4 separate regions of the Homo sapiens genome follow, and all the other regions are linked to region 4. Evidence: promoter capture Hi-C in 16 types of primary human blood cells and fetal thymus (Javierre and others, 2016). All regions are on one chromosome and are shown on one strand. Each heading gives the region's core, a stretch centred on a gene start or on the middle of the fragment in contact. The rest is flanking DNA. Distances are from core to core; before and after follow the strand shown. Region 1 overlaps COL4A2 (collagen type IV alpha 2 chain). Region 2 holds the start of LOC101060553 (a long non-coding RNA gene). Region 3 overlaps RAB20 (RAB20, member RAS oncogene family). Region 4 holds the start of PRECSIT (p53 regulated carcinoma associated Stat3 activating long intergenic non-protein coding transcript).

What was found. The method cuts DNA at HindIII sites, captures the fragments that hold promoters and counts their contacts. A CHiCAGO score of 5 or more calls a contact.
Region 1: a fragment that was not itself captured here is called in contact with the fragment with the promoter of PRECSIT in region 4 in 1 of 17 cell types (naive B cells); the score reaches 8.6 in naive B cells.
Region 2: a contact is called between a fragment that was not itself captured here and the fragment with the promoter of PRECSIT in region 4, in 1 of 17 cell types (endothelial precursors). The highest score is 5.6, in endothelial precursors.
Region 3: a fragment that was not itself captured here is called in contact with the fragment with the promoter of PRECSIT in region 4 in 1 of 17 cell types (endothelial precursors); the score reaches 5.3 in endothelial precursors.

The regions. Positions count from the first base shown.
Region 1 is chr13:110,447,384-110,451,793 of GRCh38, reverse strand. COL4A2 (collagen type IV alpha 2 chain) reads right to left here. Exons shown (of 48, transcript NM_001846.4): 19 at 2,005-2,115; 20 at 1,340-1,489. Among named protein-coding and RNA genes, the nearest start is that of COL4A2-AS2, 14 kb to the left of the region's middle. RefSeq lists an enhancer at 2,640-3,839. The HindIII fragment of the contact is 2,164 bases long and covers 526-2,689 here.
Region 2 is chr13:111,152,097-111,156,871 of GRCh38, reverse strand. ARHGEF7 (Rho guanine nucleotide exchange factor 7) reads right to left here. Exons shown (of 22, transcript NM_001354046.2): 2 at 2,881-2,967. LOC101060553 (a long non-coding RNA gene) reads left to right here and starts at 3,295. Exons shown (of 2, transcript NR_120398.1): 1 at 3,295-4,775. RefSeq lists a silencer at 2,805-3,164. The HindIII fragment of the contact is 3,914 bases long and covers 436-4,349 here.
Region 3 is chr13:110,545,608-110,550,382 of GRCh38, reverse strand. All of the region lies in intron 1 of RAB20 (RAB20, member RAS oncogene family), which reads left to right. Among named protein-coding and RNA genes, the nearest start is that of RAB20, 14 kb to the left of the region's middle. The HindIII fragment of the contact is 1,914 bases long and covers 1,165-3,078 here.
Region 4 is chr13:110,867,263-110,871,897 of GRCh38, reverse strand. PRECSIT (p53 regulated carcinoma associated Stat3 activating long intergenic non-protein coding transcript) reads left to right here and starts at 1,590. Exons shown (of 1, transcript NR_027701.1): 1 at 1,590-4,635. RefSeq lists enhancers at 1,290-2,489, 1,847-2,533. The HindIII fragment of the contact is 3,703 bases long and covers 1-2,369 here.

The DNA of each region.
Region 1 (4,410 bases), core at 358-2,857, 420 kb after region 4:
ACACATAAAATACACTAACACTAATGTTAGCTGGTGATACGGTTAGGTTTTGTGTCCCCACTGAAATCTCATCTTGAGTTGTAGTTCCCATAATCCCCAGATGTCATGGTGGGGACCTGGTTCACAGGAGGTAATGGAATCATGGAGGCAGTTTCCACCATGCTGTTCTCACGATAGTGAGTGAGTTTCTCATGAGATCTGATAGTTTTATAAGGGGCTTTTCCCCTCTTCACTCCTTACTTCTCCTTCCTGATGCCACGAAGAAGGACATGTTTGCTTCCCCTTCTGCCATGATTGTAAATTTCCCGAGGCCTCCCAAGCCCTGCAGAACTGTGAGTCAATTAAACCTCTTTCCTTTAATAAGTTACCCAGTCTTGGGTATGTTCTTATAGCAGCGTGAGAACGAACTAATACAGCTGATTAGCTACAAAAAATTGTAAAAATGTTTTTAAAAAGCTTATGAATTTTGTTGGGCTGTATTTGAAGCCGTCCTGGGCCGCATGTGGCCCGTGGGTTGGACAAGCTTGGTCTTTAAAGCATAACTCTCTGAATGCTGAAGCTGAAAGAACAGCCTTTTCTGACAGCAAGCTCCAGGCGGGACTGCATGTTTCCCTGCTGCCTGAGACAGGTCATTCTCAACTCAAGTTGAGTCACCTAACGTTATAACCTGAAAGAGCATCTTTGCTGACTCAGGGATGCACTACTGGGTGGCAGGTGGGTCCACACTCCTGTGCCTGCCGGCTTTATTGACTTTCATGGGCATTTGTCTGGGCCTTGGGGGACGGCTGTCACTTATTTTTGCAGATAATGCAGCCATCTCTTTTTGTCACCAGCTACTCTCACCTGTTCAGTTGTAGCTTTGGCTGTGCACGGGCTGAGAAGGCAGATTATCAAGGTGGCTTAAACGTGATGGAGTAACACAGGAGAGAGGCTGCCAGTCAAGGGTGAGCCCTCACCCTGGATTAGGTTTGTGGAATGTATCACCCCGACACAGAGGCAGCAATGTCAGCTCACATCTGTTTCCAGACTGCGCAGCTCAGATGTTTCGCTGAAGGATGGATTTCACCGAAGCTGCAGCAACTAAACCTCACTGTGTGGCATCCACGGGGCTGTGATACTCACAGGCTTACAGGGCTTCAGCTTCCATCCCCAGCTCCTGCGTGGACCCCAGAGAGCACCCACTACACCCTAATCTACCTGGATCCACTGCACCCTAATCACTGGCCTACTGGATTCGTTCCCAGAGTCATTTAGCAGAGAATCCCAAATAACATCCGGCTGGGACCGGGCTTCATCTGAACATTAGGCTACACCCTCCCTTTTGTTTCCCTCCACTCACCATCAGGTCCAGGTGGTCCAGGGAGCCCGGGGGGTCCTGGAGGCCCTCGCTTTCCATCAGGTCCAGGTGGGCCCCCGTAGAGCGCAGGGATGCCGGGGTCTCCGATGAAGCCCTTGGGTCCCATCTCACCCGGCAGGCCTCTCCTCTGATCTGAAACCAAACAGCATTCACCTGCAGCGTGAGTCTCCCATACCACACCGCTGCCTTTGTGTTCGTGTCCAGAGGGGCCCACTGGGGCACTAGCGGGCTTCATGGCCCCGTCAATAACTCCGATGGGTAGAAGCCATTGGTATAGTTCATTATCCTTTTTCAACATTAAAAACACCCCTCTCCTTGCCCCTCAAATAATGGCTTGATAGTTGTGATCAACACTGGGCAACAACACCTGATGATTCTCCGTTCTCTTCCCAACCCACAGGTGGAAGCATGCCAGTTACCCATCGTGGCACCATCTAACCTAGTTGGGGAGTTACTGTCATATGTGCGAGGGTTCTGTGAAGGTGTCCAAAGCATGTGTGCGGGGCTCCTTAGAGCTGCTAAGACTAGTCAGTGGGGAAAAGTAACAACGACATAGCTACGTCGTCAACGAAGTCTCCCTTGTGTGTGCTAGGACCTGAGTGCAGGTGCTTTGGGTCTCCGGTGTTGATATTATGAAGCCACATTACCTCCATCTCCGATGGAGAGGCCAGGGGGACCTGGGAGGCCCGGGTCTCCTGGCTCACCCTGGCTTCCTGGCTCCCCTTGGGCCCCTGGGAATCCCGGGTCACCTCTGGCACCTGGAAGGGAAACAAGTCCCACAGTAAGAACAAGACCGTGGTCTACGGATCGCAGCTGGCGTTCACTTTTTCATTGACTACATATTTACCAAATGCTCCATATGCTGTATGCGGCCTGATGAGGAGTTAAGATGATTAATACATGGGGTGGTCTCTCTTTTTAAGGGGCTCATTCTCCAGCAGGGGAACAGGATTAGTGAAAACCGGGTGAGGAAGTAGGTGAGTCCAAAGCTCGAATAAAGAAGGAACTAATGTGGTTGCCAATTCTGCTGGTGGCCTGGGAGCGAGGAGGCCTCACTTCCCTGCACCCCACTCTGCCCCTCAGCCCCAGCTTTAACCCTATTAGGCTCTTCTCATCCCTGTCTGCTGGATGCATAACAAAATTTGGCTTTTAAAAACTTTCACCCCTGAACAAACAAAGACAAAGTGGCATGGCTATGTTCCTTTGCTGTGTAAATAGCAACGCTTTACTGTAGAACACACTTTTTTCTAGACTATAATTGGGAAAGATGAGAAGAATGAGAAGAAAATAGGACTTTTTATCATGTAGGCATTAGGAATTTCTAGGAAAGCTTTCACTCTGCATGTCGTCTTACGAAGTTCCTTAAAATAAGGAGAGGGCTTTGCTGGGCGTCACACTGAAGTCCCACGTGCAAGGGACAGAAGGCCTGACTTCCGTGTATGGCGTCTCCTGCTCGGGCAGCTTCGTGCCGAGTGTGCAGGGGGCTGCGCTCCGCAGCCAGAGGCCCTGGGCCTGAACCTGGCTCCTCCACTTAAAGGCAACCCTGGGCAAGGAACTCAACGCCCTGCGCTTCCATCTCTCCCTCAGTAAAAGCAGCCAAGTCCATCTCCACCTCACAGGGTCACCCAGAGGGGTAAACACACTGAAAAGTACAACTAGGACAACTTGGAGCATCGCCTGGCACACAGTGTGACCTACACTCCTGTTAGCCATTGTTGATTCCATAAAAAGACACAAAATTGAAAGCCACAGACCTTCTCACTTGTTTGGAAGAATAGCAAGATTACTTTTATTTCTAGGTACCTTGGAATCATTTCTTTTAATACAAACCCCTCTATCCTTTTTGTCTTTTGACAAGTTCATGCAATGTTACCTTGAAAAAGATACATTTACTGCCTCTTTTCCCTGAGGGAATCTGCTGGTTAGTCAACCTTTGACTTTAAGAAACCCTGGAATGCAAGTCAGTCACATTCCAGCTCACCAATAACTCGGGAATGTTGTCCGGTAGAAAAGGCGGCAGGCAACCTCCGCATTTCTGAATCCGCTTGTGGGAAAAAGTGAATTTTGAAAGCACCCGCCTTTGCAGTGTGAATTCCAGGAATATAGTACGGTGAGAAGGGAGGGGTTGGTGAGAGTTGGGTTCTCAGTCAGCAACATTTTTAAAAAATGCAAAAGAAACATCGCCAGCATTAACTTAAAAATTATGTTCTTAAAATCTCAAACAGCATATTTCCTTTTTACCAAAATTATTAATAATGAGTCAAGTCAAAGTGGGCTCATGGCTCTTTTTAGTGGGTCTCAGGTTTGGTAGCCAGGTGTGCGCCATGGATGAGGCAGGAAATGCCAGCTTCGTAGTTACGGGCATCATGGAAGCTGAGCATGGATTTCAAAATATCCCCATTCACGGCTCCACGCCTCCCCAGACAGACATCTCAGGGGCTCCTGGAGGCACTGCCCATGGCCCTGTTCTGTCCTGCGTTTTGATCAGCATTGGATGAAGACATGCAAAGCCATTATTAAACTGACAGAGGGCTCGCTTCGAAGCAGGGAGGTGAATTCTTGACACCTAGGCTTAGAGGACAGGGAGACCAGGTGACCTGCTGAGTTCAAGAGGTAAACACCAGAGCGTCTGTATTTAAAAAACCCTACCCTTCACAATGCCTGTCTGATATGTTTCTGCACGTCGTCACTCAGTCAGGCGTTTGCTGAGCTCCAACTCTGTGCCTGTCCTGTTCCAGGCATTGGGAATACAGCAGTGAACAAGATGGGCTGAAATGTCTGTCCTCACAGAGCTGACTATAACATGGGCCAATGATCCGCAAAGATATATACGCACGATTATCAGGAGGAGGTTCTCGAAACATTTTTTTTTTAACCTAGAAGGATGCGCATTCTACAAGGTTCAGAGCCAAGTGCTCTAGTTGCAGGACTAGGATCAGATTTCCATATGATCTCGCCAATTTGGAAGCCGAGCCTTAATAACAAGATGAGCATTAGTGACGACATGCGCAAAGTCCTTCGTTTACACTCCAAGGTCAACTGTGACAGTGGGG
Region 2 (4,775 bases), core at 1,143-3,642, 280 kb before region 4:
CAACTATAGAACAAAAGCTAATCTAGAATTTAAGCTATTAGTTTTAAGTTTTGTGTCTGTAGTTTCAAAACATTTCTTATCAATTTCCCACCTTTCAGAATTTTGTGAAAATGAAATGTGTAAATCCCACAACATATTTCACAAGTGCAAGGCCCTTCCCTCCTGACTCCCTAAGCAATTCTTAAACACTGGGAAATTGCTGCACTGTGGCCCGCATGGGAGATGACCAAGTCCTTCAGGGCCCAGCCCTGTCCCTTCACATCACCTTACAAGGCTGGAAGCCAGAGCTGGATGCATAGCATACAAAATGACTTCTCAGGGTAACTTCCCAAAAAACACAATGACTGAACAATTTATCAGGTTTTTCATGTGCTGTTTTCATATTTTCATTTTTATTATCTCCTAGGTAATTACAAGTGTGACTCACACTAAGCTTGAAGAATGCTAACATTTGCCTCTTGCTTAAATTTACTGGAAGAGATATTTACTCTTTAAAAATAGCACAAAATAAGTCAAAACTAATTTTTTACTTTAAAATGAAACTCACTTGCTATCACTTACAACCTCAAGTTCATTCTATTAGTAACAAATATTTATTGAAAGCCTATTATGTGCCAAGCACTATTGTAGATGCTTGGAATATGTTAGTGAAAACTCTCTTCCAGAAAACCTTCAAATAAACTCTTAATTATAAAAACAATAGTTACTGTATGAAATGTCAGCAACCTTTGGAAAACTAAAAACGGTAAGTTTTTAACATTCAATTTACTTTTTTTTTTTTTTTTTTTTTTGAGGGAGTCTTGCTCTGTCACCCAGGCTGGAGTGCAGTGGCAATCTCAGCTCACTGCAACCTCTGCCTCCGGGGTTCAAGGGATTCTCCTGTCTCAGCCACCTGAGTAACTGGAACTACAGGTGCACGCCACCACGCCGGGCTAATTTTTGTTTTTGGGTTTGTTTAAGTATAGACAGGGTTTCACCATGTTGGCCAGGCTGGTCTCGAACTCCCGACCTCATGTGATCCACCCGCCTCGGCCTCCCAAAGTGCTGGGATTACAGGCGTGAGCCACCACACCCAGCCTCAATTTACTTTAAAACAAAACTTTTTTAAAAAGTTTTACACTAAAGTCAGATAATCTTAATGTGCCAATTGAGTTTCAAAAGTATGTTAACGTAAACAAAACTCAGTAGTTTCAAGAGGATAATATAATAAAATCCCTCACAAAGGTGAAGAAAAAGTAAAACCTGCCACTAGCAAGGCATATTATCACAGCCAATAAGGCAGCTGGATTACAAATGACAAAGCTGATACGACAAAGGGTATCAGGGAAAGACTACTGAAACACTGTCTTTTTCCCCTTTGAAAAGGCCCTAAGTTTCTTGGAATCTCCCCTAGCACTTTCACTTACGTGTAATAATTTCCTTGCCAACATGAAATACTACCAACAATAAATTTCTTTGTGTTTACAATCATAAACAACGCCAGTAATACTTTAATCTATGAATTCCTACATGTCTAATTCAATTAAATAAACTTTCCATGTAACCTGCCCTCACAGATTTGATGTTCTAGGTTTTCCGAGAAACCTATAGCAAAATATTCTTCGGGAAGGGAAACCTCTGTTGGGTTATCCTACATAACAGGTTCTACAAAGATGCTTTCATATACAGTTGTCCCTTTTTATCAGCAGGGAATTGGTTCCAGGATCCCGGTGGATACCAAAACCCTCAGATGCTCAAGTCTTTTATATAAAATGGCATAGTCCCGTAAACATTAAATCATCTCTAGGTTTCATACACTACCTAGTACATTATAAATGATATGTAAATAATCATTATACTGTGTTGTTTTTTATTGTTTTTTTTTAATTGGTTTCCCCCTCCTCCAGTATTTCCAATCCAAGGTTGGCTGAATACACGGGTGGGTAACCTTGGATACGGAGGGCCGACTGTACTCTTATCTGGGAGCTTGATATTGCCCATCTCAGTTTACAGATAAGAAAACTAAGGTTAAGAGTGACAAAGTGGCAACATAAACGGCAGGACTTAAGTACAGGACTGACTGCAACCACTTAAGCAGATCCCAAGAAAAGCAAAGCTAGATTTCTGTATTTAAAGTGCTACCCCAAGTGTAGGAAGAATCGCAATAGCAAAATAAAATGAAAGAGTTAAATTCCCAGAAACTGCCACTGAAAGACTGAAAAGACAATGTTTAGTAAAGTGACACAACATTTTACAACAGGGAATCGAGACCCCGCCCAGTATGTTCCCCGACAGCATGTTTTATAAACGTCACATACTGGTTAATGTGAATTCTCTGGACATTAAGTGTTGAGGGTACGGAAAAACCACCGAATTTCTGGTCTCAGGAAGAAAAAGCAGAGAAAGGAGTGCGGCTGGGAGAAGCAGGCGGAGGGCTGGCCCATTTTATTTCTGCACGACTTTGCCTGATCACCTGCTGAGGATTCTAAGGCCTGACCCAGACCTAGATGCCAGCCCTTAGATGACAATCTCTAAAAGCAGAGTTCATGCTGAGGCAGGTGCCAAGAAATCGGTTCACACCCCTGATAAACGGTTGTTGAAAATGTGTGTCACCTGCACCACCAGCGACCAGAACCACTCTTCCTCACTGGAACGAGAGCAATGTCTGGGGTTCCACACGCAGACTCCACCCTGCCCTGGGGGTGGCCCGCGCGCCGCCACCTCCCGGCCATTACCCAAACCCGCAACGCCCCGTTCCACACATCCCGGACTCTCGAGCAGCCGGGGAGGGTCGGATCCGGGCGCGGAGGAGGCAGGAGGTCCGGCTGGAGCGAAGCACCCACCCCGGGCCCAACCCCGTCTTCCCGGCCCCTCCCTCGGCCCGTGGCCGCCCGCGCTCACCTCCAGCCGCAGGGAAGCCCCGCAGCCGCGCAGGAACTCGCGGATGTTGCTCAGGCACTCGCTCTCGCTCCGGGGCTCGGGGTAGACCTGCAATACAGAGCACAAGCGCTGAGCGCCGTGGCCGGCAGCGGGGACGCCGCGGACAAGGCCGAGCGACGCCCACGGCCCGCGCTCCCAACACAGCGGGCGACGCTGGCGAGCGGCCCCCGACGGCCTGGAGCGAGCCCGCTGCCCCAGATGCCAACCCGCTCAGCCGCTGCTTCTCCTCACCCTTTTTTCTTCCTCCGGGGCTGCACCAATCTCTGCCCCTTCCCGCACCAGGAAGTGAGCCCCGGCGCCGGAAGTGACGTCCTCAGACCGCGCCCCCGCCGGCCCGCGCGGGACGTCTTCGGATAGCGTCGGGTGTTCGCCCCCGCGGACGCAGCCCACCCTGCTTTGCCGGCGAGCTGCCACCTCCTCTGGCCCAGTGCTGGGCCTCGGTCCGGTAGAGGGAGCCCACCGGTTGGCCCCGCGCGCGGCCACCGCCGCCTCCTCCTGTCCAGTCTTCGGTCTCTACCCTAGCCCCGCGGACGCAGCCGACAAGGCCCGGCTCCGCGCTCGGCCTCCTCCCTGCTCCAGGTCCTTGGCCTGGCCCCGCAGACACAGCGCACCCGCTCGGCCCCTAGCGCAGACACCGCCGCCTCTTGGCGCCAGGTCCTCGGCCTCTCCCAAGTGGACGCAGCCTGGCCCAGAGGGGCCCCAGAGAACTCGGGCGGCTTGAGTAACCCCTGATCGTTGGGAGAGAACCTGGGATTTTTTCCCTTCTTTCTAGCCTAGGCTCATGGAGAGCGCAGTTACTATTCTAATGCAATGACTTAAAATAATTAAGCAACATAAATTATGCATGTTGGGATTAAGGTGCAATGTTTTCCCAAATATAAGCCACGCGCTTCATGAATGATTAACCGAAATAGTTAACATGAAAACCAGTAAGTCAGCTGAGAAGAAATTGTGGATCCACCGCAGTGGAGGAGCGCAGGAAGGCGCCTACAGACTCCCTAGTGCTTTAGTCCAAGGTAGAATTGTGAGGGCCACCAGCAACACATGTAAGGTGTTTGGACCTTACCCACGGCAAGAAACTAAGGAAACCAGAAACAGTACCAATTACTAGAAAATTTTAAGAAGCCTGAGGCATACGAAAAACTTTATTTTGTTTTTTGCTCTAAGGATTATTTTAACTGTAAGAAAACTTATGTTCCAAATTACATGTGAAGACATTAAGCGTTGACATTTAAACTAATGCGTCATCTAGAACTCTAGCATTTGAGGACATTAAAGGCATTTTTGTCCTTCTGTACTGTAGGAGAAAATCACGACATTTCACCAGGCTACTCAGGAATACTGTGGTTTCATTTTATGGTGCTCAGGTGTTTTAAAATTATACATCAAAACCAAGTGTTCAGCAATGCCAAAAGGGATGAAATGAAGCTTTTTTCTTTCTATAGTTGAAAAATTCCTTCAAGCAAGTGCTGACATGTTTCCATCGAAACTGTACATTTTTTCAGTGGAATGGCAAAAGCAAAGCTGCTTCCTAATCCGTTTTGCTCTTTAAAATAATTTTCAAAAATTATCACATATCTAGGTAATACCTAATTTTTTTCTTCATAGTTTTAAATAGTTGTAAAGGATGTAATTTCTGACATTCTGATGACATTTTTAAATTAAACCATTGCATCCTTTATAAAAAATATATCCAATAGAATCTAAGTGTAATAGAAACATAATACCCATTTCTCCATCTAAAAAGTTTCTGAACAAGTCAGACATTAATTCTTTCTCCTTTAATTCATTCCACTTCACCCAAAAAGTTGTATCCTCATATAGTCTATTTTTATGCTTGAAACACACTCTTTTTT
Region 3 (4,775 bases), core at 872-3,371, 320 kb after region 4:
CCCCTCTTTGGGTTCAATTAATTTGCTGGGAAACGGTTGCTTATGTTTGTTTACTAGTTATTAGACAGGATATTGCAAAGGATACAAATGAACAACCGCATGAAGAGACACATGGAGCAAGGTCTGGAAGGGGTGCCACGGAATTGGGGTGCCACAGAGTTGGGGTCCATGGAGTTGGGGTGCCACAGAGTTGGGGTGCCCTTGTGGCATGGGGGTGAGTTCTTCTTCACCTTCCTGTTGGCCTCCATGTGCTCGGCTTTCTGGGAGCTCCCTGAACCCTGTTTTCTGGGCTTCTTATGGAGACTTCATTGGTTGTCTGTGGTTGAGGCATGGGCATCATGTCAAAATGTGATTGGAAAGGCCGGGTGTGGTGGCTCAGGCCTGTCATCCCAGCAGTGTGGGAGGCCGAGGAGGGTAGATCACTTGAGGGCAGAAGTTCAAGACCAGCCCGGCCAACATGGCGAGACTCTGTCTCTACTAAAAATACAAAAATTAGCTGCGCTTGGTGGCGCGTGCCTGTAGTCCCAGCTACTCAGGAAGCTAAGGCAAGAGGGTCGTTCGAACCCAGGAGGCGGCAGAGGTTGCAGTGAGCTGAGATTGTGCCACTGCACTCCAGCCCGGGCAACAGAGCAAGACTCCATCTCAATTAAAAAAAAAAAAAATTTAAAAAAGTGTGATTGGATAAAAAGGGTGCAGTCTAAGCCCAGCAAGGCCTGTCTGTTCAGATTCCCCAGGCCTCTCTGCAGCATTCCTTCCTCTAGGGTATGGGGCAGGACCCTCTCTGGAAGGAGGGTCTAATGACCCACAATCAGATTAGAGTCCGGCCTGGGCCAGGTGAAAGGAGGACAGGAGAAGGTCAGAGAGAAAGATTTTGTTCCTGAGGCCTAAGGCACCCAACATTATAACAATAGATTGTAACAATGGCTGTAAGAATCATGAGCTAGGAACCGTGGATGAAAAGACACAGTGGTGAGTTCCCTGGATTCCAGATTCAGGGCTGAAGAAGCTAGAAATTCGGAAATGCCAAAGGGCACAGGCAAAATGAATCTGCATTCAAGAATTCAGCTTTTGTCTGAAATATTCCTTCCTGCTTAACCCAAGCTGATACAAATCAACACACTTAACTTTTAGTAGCTTATATTCTAACACAGACCAAGCTAAGCTTGTAGCTCCAAGCAAAGCATTTTGTAAATATTTGCTGATTTGTTTTGTGGACTCACAAGATGTTGATGGCAACGGATGTCTTTCCTCCCTCTGGCCTAACCGCTCTCCGCACACTGGTCTTAAGCCTCTGAAATAGCTCAGCTACCTACTGCTAGGGTTCTGCAAGGAAGTCAGGGTAGTGTCCTATGAAAAACTGGCCTGGGAAGTTTGGAATCATCACACACATGTTCAGGCCTCTGGGTTCTGTAGGGACCCAGCCCTTACCTGGCTGGAGCCCTGGGCTGTGAGAGCAGCAGGCATTTATCATGCTTCTGGGTGCCAGACATCACACTCAGTGCCTTCTGGCATTGTCCATTGTTCCGGCATCCACTTTGTGTGCTTGGTGTTATCCTCACCTCTCGGTGCAGATGAGGAAGCTGAGGCCCAGAGAGCCTAGGGAGCTTGCCACAGGTTGCACTCCAGGTTGGGGAGTGCAGATTTGAGGTGGGTTTTTGTCAAAGTCCACCCTTCCTGGCACTGAGCTGGTTAAGAGGCTACGATGGAGCCTGGACCCCTCACATTGGAGCAGTGCCCACCGACAGACCCCGCATAAAAAAGGAACAGAACAGACCTAACCAAGAAATCAGGTGAGCCCACCGCGCTCCCCTGGTGCCTTCATGAGGATGGAGGCAGGTGAGACTGAATTGTGGACATTTCCAGAATGACAAGAGTTTTTTTTTGTTTTTATTTTTGTTTTTGAGACAGTTTCATTCTCTTGCCCAGGCTGGAGTACAGTGGTGTGATCTCGGCTCACTGCAACCTCCACCTCCCAGCTTCAAGCAATTCTCCTGCCTCAGCCTCCCGAGAAGCTGGGACTACAGGTGCACACCACCACACCTGGCTAATTTTTGTATTTTTTGTAGAATTGGGGTTTCACCATGTTGGCCAGGCTGGTCTCGAACTCATGACCTCAAGTGATCTGCCCACCTGGGCCTCCCAAAGTGCTGGAATGACAGGTGTGAGCCACCGTGCCCGGCCGAATTATGGTGTTTTCTAATCCATAAAAGAAAAATTGTTGGATCAAAAAGATGTAGCATTCTAACTGAAGTTGCCTTGAGGATAACAGTGTCTTTTATTTTTGTAGTCTGTTGACCAGGTTTCCTATTTGTATTTTGGAAATTCTCAATTTTATTACTAAGAGCCTTGACGGCATAAGGAGTTGCTCTGGTGGTAGCTTCACAGTTATAGAATACCTGCTATGGGAAACTTTTTGCTCCAGGTTATATCTGAAATGCTTACCTATATTTTAAAGTAAGTGTTTAGATACAAAGAATAAATGGGACGGCCTATTTGCAATACTGTTGTGTAGGCTGATTAGCATTAGCTTGTGGGGTCATGCAGGCTTCCCAAGACTGAGGTTCCAGTCTACAGACTTTGGCCTTATAGCTTTGGCCTTAAATTATAGCCGATGCTTCCACAACACTTAATATGTGCCAGAGGCTCTGCAAAACGCTTCCCCATTTTAGCTCCTTTAATCCTCTCTGGCACCGTAGCAGGTAGCAAGGTTATTTTCCAGGAGTGGTGGAGTGGGGATCTGATCTGGGCAGACCTGTCCGAGGATTTATGCACTTAATCTCACCAGCCTGCTGTGTCCTTCGTAGAAGTGACTTGGATCCTAAAGTGAGAGTGGAACTGGAAAGGAATTGCTCCAAGTATGCATTCACTCACACAAGGTAATAAATGTACATCGGGCTACGTTCTATTTCGTGCATGGGGTGCCTGTGAACTAGAAAAGTCCTGCTGCACCCAACGATAGTAAATGAAAAACAGTTTCAACCTGTGGCCTGTCTCATCACTAACGAGATCAATGTGTTAAGATTCCTGTTAACGCTTTCCCCGTGTAGAATTAAGCGCACTTCATTCACATAGGAAGCTTGTTGCGCCTCGTGTCTGAGCTGCGCTTTCTCATTTATGCAGAGCCAGCTGATTCAGTGTGTTTGGGGCAGGGGTCCGTTCCCTTCCCTGACCTTGGCTGCTCTAGTTCAGGACAGTCTGGTTAGAGGAGGCGCCGTGTAGACCGCTGTGATTTGGCGCAACAGTCAGCTTCCTGGCCTTGACTGGCGGCATTCCAGGCTTCTGACATATGAGTCCTTGAGAAGGAGGAACACTTTCTATTGTTTGTGGTACAGAAGTTCAGCTTGGCCAGGCGTGGTGACTCACGCCTGTAATCCCAGCACTTCGGGAGACTCAGACGGGAGGATCCCTTGAAGTCAGAAGATAGGTACCAGCCAAGGCAACATAGCGAGACCCTGTCTCTACTAAGAATTGAAAAAAAATTGCCAGGCATGGTGGTGCACACCTGTAGGTTCAGCTACTGGGGAGGCTGAGGTGGGAGGATCACTTGAGTCTGGGAGTTTGAAGCTGCAGTGAGCTGTGACTGCACCACTGCACTCCAGCCTGGGCAACAGAGTGAGACCCTGTCTCAAAAACAAACAAACAAACAAACAAACAAACAAAAAACCCAAAAAACAAAAAAAAACAGAAGTTCAGCTTGTACTGTTCACAGATGCTCCAGGTCAGTTAAGATTTGTGAGCCTGGGTGTCACCCAGCACCATGCCATGACACACGCTTAGTGGCCCTGTCACACAGACCAAGGGTGGCCTGCAGAGCCGCTGAGTGCATCAATAAAAAATGAGGCATTTCTACTTAGAAATGGAAGACTCATGTGTGACTGTGCTTCCTTGTGGGTTGGAACTGCCTTTCGGGACGCTACCATCTCATGGCATAACTTGAAATGACTTATGTTGCCCAAATAGGTGAATTTAGGGTTGTACCTTTCCCTCACAGCTGTATTTGGGATCAGCAGGTTTTCTTTTTAGATGAATCAATTGGAACACTTTTAGAAAACAAAATGAAGATATGATCCTGTCTCTGAGTCTCAGTGATGTCTTCTTAAAACTGTAGTAATAAACCTTATTTCCAGGGACAGTTATGAAGCTTAAATAAGATGACAGATGTGCAGGGAGCCCAGCATGGTTCTCGACTCTCAGTAATGCAATGTCATCTTCTTTCTCCTGGCACATCATAGGTTCCCTTAGCTTTTGTAAAGGGTGATAAGGATTAAATGGCTGAGGCTTTTTTTTTGGTGCCTATCTCATGGGGTTTCTCTGCTATGTGAAGGAATCACTTTCAGAATTATGGATTGGAATGGCTCTGGTTGGACATTGACTTTTCATCTGCTTTGCTGTATGCTTGGTCCTGGCTTCTGGGTGAAGACTACAGGATCCACGGTGTTTCTGTGGAGTCAGATCATGAAACAGGAATGTAGAGCTCAGAAGTAAATGCAGCATTTTCCCCCACAGCAAGGCTCTAGTCATTAATTGCTTAATAATAGAGAACGAAGGACTGTAAAGAGGTCCTTAACATTACAGGGCATATTTTACAGACTCCTATTGTGCCCTTTTTATATGTTGCTTTGTATTTCCTTCTTTTTGAGGGGGAGTGCAGGAATTTTATCATCTTCCCAAGGTGGCACTGATGCACTTCTCTAGACTTGCCCAAGCTCTGGGGGCCCATGTGTCCACCTCAGTCACCACCTCAGCACAAGGATCTCCAAGCTCCTTCTAGTTTT
Region 4 (4,635 bases), core at 341-2,840:
TGTTTTCCCATTTATGAAGGCTACTGTGCTCTCACCAGTGAATTTAATTACAAGATTTTTAGAAGCAGCTAAAAAAATTGCAACTCAGATGCATCAGTGAATCAGTCCTATTCCCTGTCTGCTAAAGGATGTCTTTTCGTTACCATCATCTGCCGCAGGGCTTTTCTGACAGTTCATATAATTCAAGATAATTGAAGCCAATTTTGCAAGCAAAACGACAGGAACCACTACATGAAATAGCACATCAAGTCTCTGATTCACAACAATGGCACTATTTCCTCAATGGTTTTAAAATTCTCTTGGCTAGGCGTAGTGGCTCACGCCTGTAATCCCAGCACTTTGGGAGGCCGGGGCGGGCAGGTTGTTTGAGCTCAGGGGTTCAAGACCAGCCTGGGCAACAACGTGAGACCCTGTCTCTACAAAAAATACAAAAATTAGCTGGGCTTGGTGGCGCATGCCTGTAGTCCCAGCTACTTGGGAGACTGAGGTGTATCAATTGAGAAAAATGACAAGACAAGTCTCAATCATTTTAGGAGGTTTACTCGCCAAAGTTAAGGACGAACACTCGGGAGACAGTCTGTACCTTTCTCCGAAGATGATTTTGAGGGCTCCAAATTTAAAGGGGAAAGGGTGAGATAATGACAAGTACACAATTTTCATCTAAGAGGCGGGTAGAGAAAAATAGTCATGCGTTTGGCTCATTGAATCTGCATTATTTTTACACAAGATGACTTAGACAAAGGGGGCAGGGGAACAATCAGGTTTGCATTTGTGTCTGGCGGGCAGGGGTTGACTGCACCTGTAAAGATGAGCTATCGATTTGCATTGCTGTGGTGAAATCTTAACAGAAACACCTTACAGTAAAGATTGCGGAGCTCACTAGGAATTTCCTTGTGGACAAAATATAGGGGAGGTGTGCAGTTTTTCATCTTGCAGCATCTTATTTAGGGACCAAAAGGGGAGGCAGGTTTGCATGACCCAGTTCCCAGCTTGACTTTTCCCTTTGGCTTGAGTTTGGGGGCCCAAGATTTATTTTCCCTTCACAGGTGGGACGATGGGTTGCAGGGAGGATGGGAGCCTGGGAGGCAGGGTTGCAGGGAGCCAAGATCATGCCACTGCACTCCAGCCTAGGTGACAGAGTGAGATCCTGTCTCAAACAAAACAAAACAAAACAAAACCTCTCTCTGGAAGAGAAAGGAGGGACTGTGAAAACAACCGAGGGAACAGGCAGCTTTCATTACCAGCAGCATGGGATCCTCGCCCAAGGCCGAGAAAACACAGGAGTGAAATGACAGCTATAGAGGTACACTCCGCAGGCTGCATGAAAAGGACAAAAACAGTAATATACACACCAGTAAGGAACGGCATTGGCATGCTCCGCCTCCTGTGGGCAGCCTGGGGATGAGGTCATTTTCCAAAACAGGGAGCTGGTCAGCATTTTCCATGCCCAGGGCAAGTTCCCCTTGATGGACAGCACCTAATGACCAGCGCTGAGTCAGTCTAGGAGCAGAAAGACTGGAAACCCTGGAGTAGGGGCCACGTCAGCATGACTCACTCAAGCAACGGCAAATTCTCACAGCAACAACATGAAACGCCCTCCAGGGTGATGACTGTGGGAGCAAAACTGACCGGAACCTGGGCGGTGCATGCACTGTGCACCCTCCTGGTTAACAGCCCCACGGCCCGAGAGCTGTGCTTTACATGAATGTCTTCTGTTAAAGCAGCTCGTGTGGCTTCTGCACCCTGGTGGAGCCAACACACGTGCCTGTCACGGAGGTGAGGAGTGAGTGAGTTCTCACCAGCATTTGACGCTGACCTTCCGGAGACATGGCGTCCCTGAGAGCCTGCAGCCTGCCAGAGCAGAGAGCCACCCGCTGGCCGTTCTGTTGGAATTTCGGAGTTCCTGTCTTTCAGGCAACATCTGCCAAGCGCGGTTTGTGTAAGGAAACCCATTCTGTCGTGTCTGCCGGGGCCCAGGGCGGCTGCTGTGCGGGAACCAGCTTTTGTGGCCCATGGAGCAACGACTCAGTCTGGGGCTCGGCTACTCTCCGGCCCGGGGTACTGGCATTTCCCTGGGGCCCATGGGGCGAGTGCCCCTATTTTTCCCATGAGGCCTCAGCCAAGAGGAGGTTCGGGAAGAAAGGAAAACACAGGTGAGGAGAGAGAAGGGCGGGCAGAGAGGTACCACGCCATTAGTGCTGATGGGGAGAGGCGGCTCCAGCCCGGCACTGCTGTCCTTACGAGGCATGTTTCCTTTTTATTCGGAGGAAGAGAAGCAGAGGAACACGTCATGGAGACGGACCGAGTTGAAGGAGCCAGGGATGGTGACAAGCGGAAGGAAGTGTGTTTTGTCCCCATCCAGGGAAGCTTTTGTTTCATGAGACTTACTTGCGCACGTCTGGTAGCTGCCCTGGACATTCATGGACTTTCGTTTTCACTCAGATTTTGTGGTTCACGTGACACAAAGCATGAGGACATCACTGGGCGAGAGGGCCAGGTCACCCCACTGCCGAGGGGCACGCCCCAGCTGTGCACCGCTAGAGTGGGCTTGTCCAGTCCTCGGACACGGGGACAGGGTGTGCCCATCTCATGTAAGACATGAATAATAGTAGAAATTTCTGTTGCATGAGAACTCTCTGCATTATCCTCACCATTTTCCTGTAAGCGTAAAACGTCTAAAACTTTTTTATGAGCACACTAATTCCTCACTTAAGGTCGTCATTAGGTTCTTGGAAATGGCAACTTTAAACAAAAGGACAGACAGCAGGTCCTCAAATAACATTCTTTCCTTCAACATCATTTCATCCTAAGGAGAAAAAAATGGATTTTGTTACATATCCTGGTTCATTTCCAAGAACCAGGTGGGCATAGAATTGACCAAAGGTGGAGGAGAACAGATGTGCGGCTCCGTCCTGGCTGTGTGGCTCCGTCCTGTGGACTAATGCGTGTGGACAGTCAGGAACACTTTCAGGACAATGTGGGTGGCCTGCCAATGGGACCTATTCCAGAGGTCTGAGAAGAAACCGTTGTTTAACCTAGAATCCTGCTAGGAATCAAACTAGCTTTGACAGGAAAAGGAAAAAGAATGAGGACTCTGAACAGGGACAGACTCAGAACAATTCTTATCCACTCATAGTTTAGGAAATAATCTTACAGCATGTGCTCCACCAGGGTCACCAACTGTCCCAATTTGCTTGGGACTGAAGGTTTGTTTGTTTTTGTTTCTTTGTTTTGAGACAGAGCGTCTCTCTCTGTTACCCAGGCTAGAGTGCAATGGCGTGATTTTAGCTCACTACAACCTCCACTTTCCAGGTTCAAGCAATTCTCCTGTCTCAGCCTCCCTGAGTGGCAGGGATTACAGGAACCCACCACCATGCTGGCTAATTTTTCAATATTTAGTAGAGATGGGGTTTCACCATGTTGGCCAGGCTGGTCTCGAACTCCTGACCTCAAGTGATCCACTTGCCTCAGCTCCCAAAGTGCTGGGATTACAGGCATGAGCCACCGTGCCCAGCCTACTGAGGGGTTTTTATGGACATGGGACTTTTAATGCTAACACTAGGACAGTCTCTGTCAGACTGAGATGATGGTCACTCTTTGGCCAAACACCTCCACCACTGCCCCGCAACATCCATAATAGCAACAGTTTGAGTAAAGACACAAGTACCATTTGCGGTCCAAATACTTGAGTGTGTAAACGGTGCATTGGGTGTGCACAGCGGTACCCAGAATCTCCAACTAGCTCCTCATGAGCTGGGTGGGGCATGCAGGGAAGGAGGCAAAGCTTCCCACCTGTCTGGGGAGGCTGTGGGCTCCACCTCTGCAGACTTTGGTAGGAGACCAGTGTTCATGCAGTTGTAGTAATGCACGTGTAGCTTAGGGTTTTTTTGGGACTAAACTATGGACAAAGCACAGAACTCAGTTGTCTCTGTAGAAAAGGGTGGCCTGTCACCCGGTACCAGGTGAGGGGAGTGTGGCAGTGGCAAGAGCACCTGGTGGTGGCCGAGAGGAGGCACGGAGGAGAGTCAGGGTACCGTGCCCTCATGGAGTGAGTGCGGAAGACAAAACAACAGACACAGTTGTAATGACATTACTTTATTTGGGGTTAAATTAGGGTGCACATCACAGAAAATCCTCAAACCACAGGGAATGAAATGGAAGTTGTTTCTCTCTGGTAAAACAAGTCTGAAAGCTGCAGTGTCATCAGATCCACGGCCCTGCATCTCTGCCACACCCCACCATGCACCTCCAGTCCTCCCGGCCTGTGGCTTCCAGGGCTCCAGGAACTAGGGAGGGACAGACACTGGGATCTTCTGCCATGAAGCAGAGAGGGATGCTGGGGAAACACATGGGCACTCGCTGCCACAAGTGCCTCCTGGAAAAGCAAAACCCAATGCCATGGCTGCCTCCCTCCGGCAGCACCAGCACGAGTGAGCCAGATCCTCACCTTTGATCATCAAGGCTGAGAGGTAATATCTGAGGTCGACAGATCAAGAAGTAGAGACAAAAGCAAACCAGGCTGGTGGTAAAGAGGAGGAATGACCGTAAGATGCCTCTGAAAAGTGGGAATATGGGGAATCTCCTCTTGGTTTCTGGTTGCACATGTGAATTTATTGAAAACTGAATATATTAAGA